Regions from separate parts of the Homo sapiens genome. Here region 2 is linked to region 1. The links are contacts of gene promoters, found by promoter capture Hi-C in blood cells and fetal thymus (Javierre and others, 2016). All regions are on one chromosome and are shown on one strand. The core of a region is centred on a gene start or on the middle of the fragment in contact, and the rest is flanking DNA. Distances in the headings are between cores, read along the strand shown.

Region 1 (4,402 bases), core at 1,731-4,230:
CCACACCCGGGTAATTTTTTTTTTTTTTTGGTACTTTAGTAGAGACGGGGTTTCACCATATTGGCCAGGATGGTCTCAATCTCCTGACCTCGTGATCCACCCACCTCAGCCTCCCAAAGTGCTGGGATTACAGGCGTGAGCCACTGTGCCCAGCCTAAAATAGCTAATTTTTTCACTGGGCACAGTAGCTCATGCCTGTAATCCCAGCACTTTGGGGGGCTGAGGTGGGAGGATCACTTGAGTCCAGGAGTTTGAGACCAGCCTGGGCAACATGGCAAGACCCCGTCTCTATTAAAAAGTTAATAAGTTAGTCAGATGCAGTGGTGCATGCCTGTGATCCAAGCTACTCAGGAGGCTGAGACAGGAGGATCACTTGAGCCCAGGAGGTCAAGGGTGCAGTGAGCCGAGATCATGCCACTGCACTTCAGCCTTCGTGACAGAGAGAGATCCTGTCTCAAACAAAACAAAAGACTAATTTTTGTGTTTAAAGGAATTACTAAATGATTGGCTGGAGAGTTCCTCTTCCTGTATTTGAACCCCGGCTCTGCCACTTATTAGCTGAGTGGCCTGGGGAATGGGACTTCACCTCACTCAGCCTCCATTTCCCCATTTGTACAATGGAGCTAGTACATCCGACTTCTTAGGTTTGGGAGGAGTGAAGAAGGCCCATCAGGCACTTAGAACAGAGCCTAACAGATGGAAGGAACTCCAGGCAGTTTTGTTGTTGTTGTTGTTGTTGTTTTTGAGATGGGAGTTTTGCTCTTGTCGCCCAGGCTGGAGTGCAGTGGTGTGATCTTGGCTCACTGCAACCTCCACCTCCTGGGTTCAAGCGATTCTTCGCCTCAGCCTCCCAAGTAGCTGGGATTACAGGCATGCGCCACCATACCCGGCTAATTTTTGCATTTTTAGAAGAGACGGTTTTGCCAGGTTGGCCAGGCTGGTCTGGAACTCCTGACCTTGGGTGATCCACCGGCCTCAGCCTCCCAAAGTGCTGGGATTACAGGTGTGAGCAGGCATAGTTATTGTCATCATTCAAACACAGATCCCTCCAATCAGCCATGACCCCGGACCCTCACACTCCTGCCCCTTGGTCTGACCCTTCCCTTGTTCTGCCTAGTGCTGGCGTGGGTCGCACAGGAACCCTCATTGCCCTGGACGTCCTGCTCCGGCAGCTGCAGTCCGAGGGTCTCCTTGGGCCCTTCAGCTTTGTAAGGAAGATGAGAGAGAGTCGGCCGTTGATGGTGCAGACTGAGGTGAGGCAGTCCCTCAGCAACACAGGACGGGAGGCAGTGGGACGAGGGACCCTGGGGCTCCACGCAGCTCAGACCTGGGGGGACGCCTCTCACTCCCGTGCCTGCTTCCCAGGCTCAGTACGTATTCCTGCATCAGTGCATCCTGCGGTTCCTCCAACAGTCAGCCCAGGCCCCAGCCGAGAAGGAAGTCCCGTATGAGGATGTCGAAAACCTCATCTACGAGAACGTGGCCGCCATCCAGGCCCACAAGTTGGAGGTCTAAGTGACGAGGGGGCTGGGTCGGCAGCCCAGGCATCCTCAAGCTCTGGACACCCACTTGAGCCCAGATTCCTGGAAGAGCAGAGGGCTGGGCTCCCAGACTCCTGGGTGCTGTGGGAGGAGGGGGCTGGTATCCCAAACTCTGGTTTCCCCAGGAGAGAGTGGTCTGGTGGGCTTCAGATGAGTCCTATGGGAGCTGGGGATCTGGATTCCTGGTTCCCTGAAGGAGGAGAGGGATGATAGCTTGGATTCCCTAGGTCTTTCCAGGATGCAGAAAGAAACAGGCTGGGGCCTGGATTCTGAGGCAGGAAGGAATTTGGGTCTGGAGTTCTGGCTACTTGAGGACCAAAGGCAGGAAGGATCCTGCCTTGATTTTACTTCAGAAACCAAATCAGTCTTCTATAATCTGGGGTCGGAGGGAGTCCCTGTGCCCAAGGTCTCTCTGCACCCCACCATCCACATGTATTTTTCCTTCTATCCCATAATTTATTAAATCACTGTTCTCCCCAGAGACAGTTGTCCCATGGATTTCTGGGTCTGGAAATAATATTGGATTGGGAGTAGGGATGGGTTCCTGGTATCTAGGGATCGAGGCGAACGTCCAGGAGGGGACTAGAGGGACCCACACATTTGCACATGAAAAAATGTAGGTTTGGGTGGTTGAGTCTCTCAGAGAAGGCAGTGTCCAGACGTCTGTGTCCAGGGTCTGGGCAGTATGGACAGGGCTCGCTGGAGCTAGGTGCTTGGGGACTTGCCTTCTGAGCTTTTCTTTTACTCTTCTCTGTTGTTGTTGTTGTTGTTTTGTTCTGTTTTTGTTTTTGTTTTTGAGACATGGTCTTGCTCTGTTGCCCAGACTGGAGTGCAGTGGCTCACTGCAGCCTTGACCTCCTGGGCCCAGGTGATCTTCCCACCTCAGCCTCTAGAGTAGCTGCCATCACAAGTGCGCACCACCACGCTGGCTCATTTTTGTAGAGACGGGATTTTGCTATGTTGCCCAGGCTGGTCTCCAGCTCCTGGGCTCAAGCATTCCTCCTGCTTCGGCCTCCCAAAGTGCTGAGGTTACAGGTATGAGCCACCGCACTGGCCGCCTCCTGGGACTGGTGTTAGGGGAACTTAGAGGGCGATGTCTGGGGGCTGATAGCTGGGGACTTTGATGCTGAACCCTGCAGAGTCTGGGTCTCCAATGGGGGTCTGGGGTCTCCTAGGTCCTAGGACTGAGTATCCTGGCATGCCGTTCTTTGGGCTATACAGGGTGTGTGTCGTGTGTGTTGGGGCGGGAGGAGTGGAGTGGTCTGGACGGCCAACGACTGGACCAGAAGGCAGAAAATGCTAAAGCACCAGGATAAACATCTGTGGGCGTCATCGAGGTTCCCGGGTGGAGGCGGGAGGAGGGGCGGGGCAGGGCTTTCCGCCTACCCGAGACCAAATACGGGCACACACAATACACACCACACACGCGCGCACACGCACACGGGCACACACGCGCGCACGGGATCCTGCTCCGCTCCGCGGCTCCCCCGCCCCGGAGAGCTCCGCGATCAGCACCCGGGACAGCGCCACCGCCCACGTGCAGGGGGTGGGGTCCGGGCGGGGCTGGCGCCTCGGCGTCTCCCGGGAGTGTCCCGTCCAGCCGCCGAGCAGGTAGGAGCTGCTGGGACCCCCGCCCTCAGCCCATCCGCATCCGCATCCCTAGAGGAAAGGGGTGTGCGAGTGGGGGCTGGGGCACTGGGGAGACAACCAGAGGGAGGGCAGCAGCCTGAAGCGGAGAGACAGGGATCTGGGGACGCGAGACAGGTATGGAGAAGACAAAGAGCCGAGGGCGGGGAGTGGGGCGCAGGCGGAGGGGAGAGGGAGAGACCCTGGAGACAGAGGCCAGGCGATAGGGAAGAGAGACAGGCGGGTTGGGGAGGCAGACACAGGGAAGACGCCTATGTGGGGTCAAGAGGCAGCGTGGAGACCGAGGCGGTCACGAGAGCAGCACGGATGCGTGGAGAGACCAACAGGCCAAGAAGGATGAGGGGGCTCAGCACAGGCACCGGGCAGCCCCCGACCCGCCCTCCAGCAAAATTGGGGAGAGGGAAGAGGGAACCTGCGTCTCAGCTCCCAGGACCAGGTGCGGAGGGAGCAGTCGGCTGTGGGCGCTCGGACCACAGGCTGCCCGCTCCCCACCTCGCGGGACCTCAGGATCCCAGTCGGGCTATTGGGGGGTTCCCAGGCACCGGTGGGCCCCGGAGCGAGCCTGCCCCGCCGGGACTCCGCGTCTGTGCGTCAGCCCCGCCCGTTGTCCTGGCAACAACCCGTTGCCCGGGCAACCAGCTTTGCTCTCACCCCGCTTGAGAGGAGCCCGGCTGTTGCTCTGGGCAACGCGGTCTGCTGGTTCCCACGTCTGCCTTCGCCCGCTTCCGGTTCAGACCCTGCGGAGGGGCGAGGACGAGGCAGAAGTCAGCGGGATGCCTGTGGGGCCGTGGAGGAAGAGGGTATCCCTTTAGGATGGAACTAGGTCCTGGACACCCCCTCTCAAGTGCGGGGAGGCTGATACTACAACTCCCAGCATGACTCGCGGTGGCTGTCCGGTTTCTGCGCGGCTGTTCGCGCAAAGGCCTCATGGGAGTTGGAGTTCTTTGTTGTGCGTGGGGCTCAAAGGACGTCTGGGGTGGGAATGGGGGACTAGGGTGCTTGAGTGTCTCTGCAGAAAAGACTCCAGGACCCCGCCACCATGTTCCCGGAGCCCCCAACCCCGGGGCCTCCATCGCCCGACACGCCTCCCGACTCCAGTCGCATCAGCCACGGCCCAGGTGAGCAAGACCCGGGGGTGGGGGGCCGAGCAGAGAGAAAGCCTGGCCAGGATTCCGAGGGGCGGGATTCGGACGGGTGTACTCGGGCAGGCGGGC
Region 2 (4,746 bases), core at 537-3,036, 170 kb before region 1:
GAAACCCCATCTCTACTAAATATACAAAAATTAGCCGGGCATGGCGACGGGTTGCAGTGAGCTGAGATCGTGCCACTGCACTCCAGCCTGGGCAACAGAGCGAGACTCCGTCTCAAAAAAAAAAAAAGTTAACTAGGCATGGTGCCATGTGCCTGTGGTCCCAGCTACTCTGGAGGCTGAGATGTGAGGACTGGTTGAACTGGGAAGTCGAGGCTGCAGTGACCCACCATCGTGCCACTGCACTGCAGCCTGGGCAATAGAGTGACACCCTGTTTCTTTTCTTTTCTTTTTTTTTTTTAGAGATGGGGTTTCGCCATGTTGGCCAGGCTAGTCTCAAACTCCTGACCTCAGGTGATCCATCCGGCTTCCCAAAGTGCTGGGATTACAGGGGTGAGCTCTATTGCCAGGCTAGAGTGCAGCGGTGTGATCGTGGCTCATGGCAGCCTTTATCTTCCTGGGCTCAAGTGATCCTCCTGCCTCAGCCTCCAAAAGCCCAGCCAAGTTTTTGATTTTTTTGTAGAAAAGAGGTCTCACATGTTGCCCAGACTGAAGTGCAGTGATGCCATCACAGCTCACTGCAGCCTCAAGCTACCCAGGCTCAGGTGATTCTCCTGCCTCAGCCTCCTCAGTAGCTGGAACCACAGGCACGCACCAACACGCCTGGCTAATTTTGGTATTTTTTGTAGAGATGGGGTTTCACCATGTTGTCCAGGCTAGTCTCAGACTCCTGGACTCAAGCAATCCTCCCGCCTCTGCCCCACAAAATGCTAGGATTACAGGCATGAGCCACCGCACCTGGCCGGGATTCTTAATTCGTACATTTGGCTGTCAGTGTAAACAATCCTGAGTCAGGCCTGATATTAACCAGGCAGGAGGGAGAGAAGCTTAGCAGGGATCTAGAGGTGAAACCACCTGCCCAGATTCCAGTTACTTGTCTGCCCCTAGAGCCAAGACTCATTGATTCCGCCTCGGATTTATTGTGCATTTACTACTGCCAGACTCTGCCCCAGGCAGATACAACAGTGAGCCAAACACACAGCAAGACCCGCCCTGGGGGACGCTCTCCTAAGCCAGGCATCTGCAGCTCTTAAAGCCCTGGGTACCCCTCTCTCCCTACCCTGTCCCCCAAAGCTCTCTCTGGCTTGCTTTCTCCCTGCAGCCTGCAGCACTCCCAGCACTCCGAGTGGCCGGATGCGGGGGCTTAACCTCAGTTGGAAACTGTCCAGAGGAGCCCAGCGCTGCCAGGTACCCTTTAAGACCCTGGAGATCTGCCTTAGACCTGGGGGCGGGGGGAGGGGGGCGAGGGAGGAGGGTGGGGGGGGCGGGTAACGGAGGGGGGAGGACGAGGGGGGCGGGGGGGTTCCCAGGAGCCCGGACCCCACCGCTGCTCTTTCCTCTTAACCCCACAGGCCCCGAGGGTTCTGTGCGCACCGACTGTAGGAAGCGGAATGTTGAAAGCCGCTTGGGGGGATTTGCCCCCTCTGGTAGATACCAGAACTATGGATATGCCTTTATATATTGGGGGGCGGGGGGGGGCGGGGGCGAGCCCGTGGAGCCGCCCAACTTCGCAGAGATTAAAGCTTGAGCCTGAGACTCAGCGAGTCGCACCTCGGTGCCTGTGTGCACGCGCAGGCCCCCGAGGGGGCGTCGGGGGAGCAAGGGGTGGGGTGGGGGCGCCCCTACCAGCCCCGCGGTGCACGACGGCTCCCATTGGCTGGGGCTCGGGCGTCCTAGCCAATCCGGCCGCGGGGTGCGTTTCTCCTGACCCGGGTGGGACCGCACCCCGCGGACTCAGAAGCGAGCGGCACCCCGGGACCATCCCACAGCAGATCCAGTGGCCGCCAACGTCAGGCTGGTGAGGGCACGACGGGTGGGGTTCAGGGGCGGGGGTCAGGATGGGGAGACGGGTCGGAGCGAGGGCGCCCCCTCGGCCCCACGGAGTCCCCGTCCCGTCCCGTCTCGCAGGAGTTGCCTCCTTCGTGGATGTTGGATGTGGAAGCCCAGGAGCCCCCCAAGGGGAAATGGTCGACGCCGCCCTTCGACCCGCGCTTCCCCAGCCAGAACCAGATCCGTAACTGCTACCAGAACTTCCTGGGTGAGACCTGCTCAGCCAGGTTATGGGAGGAGCAGGGTGTGACAAGGGACGGCAGGGAGGGGCACTCCCACCCTAAGTCCCGCGGAGACCGTTAGGGTGGGAGGCCGGGCGGGGCCGGGTTGGTGGGGGCGGGGCCTGGTCGAGAAAAGGCGGGGCTGAGCCTGGAGGGGCGGGGCGAGGTTGGTAGGGGCGAGGCCTGATCTGGAAGGTGCGGGGCCGAGTCGTGAAGGTGCGGGGCGAGGTAGGTAGGGGCAGGGTCTGGGTAGGAGGAGCAGTGTGAGGGAGGTAGGGGTCGGGGCCTGGCTGGGAGGGGCGGGACGGAGGCCTCCAGGGGAGAGGGAGGCGGGACGAAGCAGCGAAGAACTGGGAGGGCCCGAGCAGTGGAGGGGCGGGTCCTGTCCTGGAATGGGCGTGGCTTGCCGCGTGACCCCCGCCCGCCACAGACTACCACCGCTGCCTCAAGACCAGGACCCGCCGCGGGAAGAGCACGCAGCCCTGCGAGTACTATTTCCGCGTGTACCACTCGCTGTGCCCCATCAGCTGGGTGAGTCGGCAGAGGGGGCGCCGGGCCAGGCGTGTGCAGGGCTCGGCCGAGGCTGAGCCGGCGTCCCGCTCCCTGCCTTTCTGCTTCCCAGGTGGAGAGCTGGAACGAGCAGATCAAGAACGGGATTTTCGCCGGCAAAATCTGACTGCCCCAGCGCGGCTTCCTCTGAAGATGCAGTGATCCTGCATCTTTTTGTCTCGCGGAGCCCCGGGTCTCGGTTATCCACCCCTACCTCCCAGTGTCTAAGCCACGAATAATGGTATGCTGTTGCTGATGTTTCTTCTTAATGCCCAGCCAGCGATGCGTCGTGGTGGTGGTGGGGATCCTCCGTGTGCCTGTGTCCGGGCTAACGCTGCTTTTTCCGATAAGGGGCAGGTGGGGGACTGCTGCTCCATCAGGTAGCAGCAGGCAGTCAAGGCCCTAAGACAGGAAGCCGAATGCCTCCCGTCCCCCTTCTCCCTCTCCATTCCAGCAGGTAGATGCCTCGCGTTGACAGCTACGAGCCAGCCCAGGGTCCCCAGTTCTCAACACTGTCCCACCCAGATGGCTCCAAGGTGCTCCTGCCTCCAATCACCACACCTACCTCTCACCTCAGTCCTTTCCCTACTCCCCTCCTGCCTGGACCATCTCCCCAGGCTCCTTCCCCATCCCACCCCTGATCCATCCCATCTCGGGTCCTGAGGGGTCTTCTTTGTACCACCCAGCGCTGACTCCATCCCTTCCTCCCCCACTCTCTGGGCTCTCCACCACTCTCCATCACGACCCCGCTCCCACCTGGCTCATTTCCCCTCCCAGAACATCGAGATCCCCATCATGTGAGCCAGCTTATTTCCAACAGAATCCCCTGGTGTCCACGCTTTCGGCACCCGCACCCACAGCCAGGCGTAGCAGCCTGCTCAGTTCTCCAATGCATCAGGCTCACCCCGCACCCCCACCCCGCAGAGGCCGCTGTCAGTCTCTCCCACCGCACACATCGCCGCAATTTCTCCTGTGACCCCCGCCAGACTGCCAGCACCCAGAGGACGCTCAGAGCTCCCTCGGAATCATTCTTTACTCCTTCCCCATCCCGGCAGTAACACGGAACCGCATTCCGGTTCCAGACGCCCTTTGAAGTCTTGCCTCTCCCCAGGCCAAGGAGTGCCGCTTGACAAAGCCCTAGGGTTCCAGCCTGGTCCTGCTGAGGGAGCCGTGAGACCAGTCAGCCTGGGGTGCTGGTTTTCCCAACGGGTACTCCCTGAGCTATCAGCCTTCCAGAGGGGCTCCTAGGAGGGGGAAGCCCCATCCTCTGACTGAAGCGGTCCTATGAGGCCCTGTTCAACCCCAGGGTTCAAAGGTGACTACAACTAATCATGACAACTTGCAGGGTGACCCTAGACAAGCTTCTTGACCTGTGTGAGCCCGAGGTTCCCCAAGGCAAACCAAGATGGCTCAGGGCCCCATTATCAGAGGAGGTAGGGCTGGGTGAGCTCAGGGGGCTGACTCCATCCTGCTCCCTGCCCCATGATGACCTGTCCATCACCTGCCCTCCATGCTGCCCAGGACACACCCTAGATGAGCCATCCCCCAGGATGACGCCACCTCTGAGATCTTGGTCTCCTGGCTCCGTCTCTGACCACAACCCAAGAATGGGGTGAGGGCACAGGGTGTGGACTCAACTACAGGAGGGCTTCCTGTTCATGCAACGTCCCCAGAGCCTTGACGAATGCACAGAGGCGCTGGCAGAACCACGGGGGCAGGACCCCTCTCTGAGTCACAGAATGGAGCTAAGTTGGTGAGGTCACCCAGGTAACATCCCAAGCACAGGGTGCCACACCTGTGCAGCCACAGCAGCCTCCTGACCTCCCCAGAGCCGTGTCTAGAACCCATTTTTGCCCTGTTGGCCAGCCTTCCTCCTTCCTCCTCCTCCCATCATCCTATCTTCACTGCCTCCAGACCTCATCTCAGCACATTCTCACACTCCCGACCCCCTCTGCAGCCGCCACTGCCCCACTGATGCCTGAGCCAGGGGCAGGGGCAGACCTGCCCGGCCTGGCCTCCAGCCTGGTGGACCATCACCTGTGCAAACTCCGAACACCTCCTCCAGGTGCTCTGGCTGGCTTTCCCTGGT

What was found. Contacts are between HindIII fragments. The CHiCAGO score rates a contact against its expected background, and 5 or more counts as called.
Region 2: the fragment with the promoter of COX6B2 here is called in contact with the fragment with the promoter of SYT5 in region 1 in 2 of 17 cell types (total CD8 T cells and naive CD4 T cells); the score reaches 6.0 in total CD8 T cells.

Annotation. Positions count from the first base shown.
Region 1 is chr19:55,178,867-55,183,268 of GRCh38, reverse strand. It overlaps SYT5 (synaptotagmin 5), which reads left to right and starts at 2,980. Exons shown (of 9, transcript NM_003180.3): 1 at 2,980-3,152; 2 at 4,183-4,306. The coding sequence starts at 4,228. PTPRH (protein tyrosine phosphatase receptor type H) reads left to right here. Exons shown (of 20, transcript NM_002842.5): 19 at 1,118-1,253; 20 at 1,366-2,022. The coding sequence ends at 1,515. RefSeq lists silencers at 2,965-3,154, 3,035-3,447 and an enhancer at 3,435-3,514. The HindIII fragment of the contact is 13,685 bases long and covers 1-4,402 here.
Region 2 is chr19:55,351,759-55,356,504 of GRCh38, reverse strand. COX6B2 (cytochrome c oxidase subunit 6B2) reads left to right here and starts at 1,786. Exons shown (of 5, transcript NM_144613.5): 1 at 1,786-1,855; 2 at 1,966-2,095; 3 at 2,539-2,639; 4 at 2,731-2,898. The coding sequence starts at 1,984. The coding sequence ends at 2,784. GARIN5B (golgi associated RAB2 interactor family member 5B) reads left to right here. Exons shown (of 11, transcript NM_001145402.2): 10 at 1,160-1,245; 11 at 1,410-1,597. The coding sequence ends at 1,205. RefSeq lists silencers at 2,202-2,251, 2,362-2,471. The HindIII fragment of the contact is 2,438 bases long and covers 1,583-4,020 here.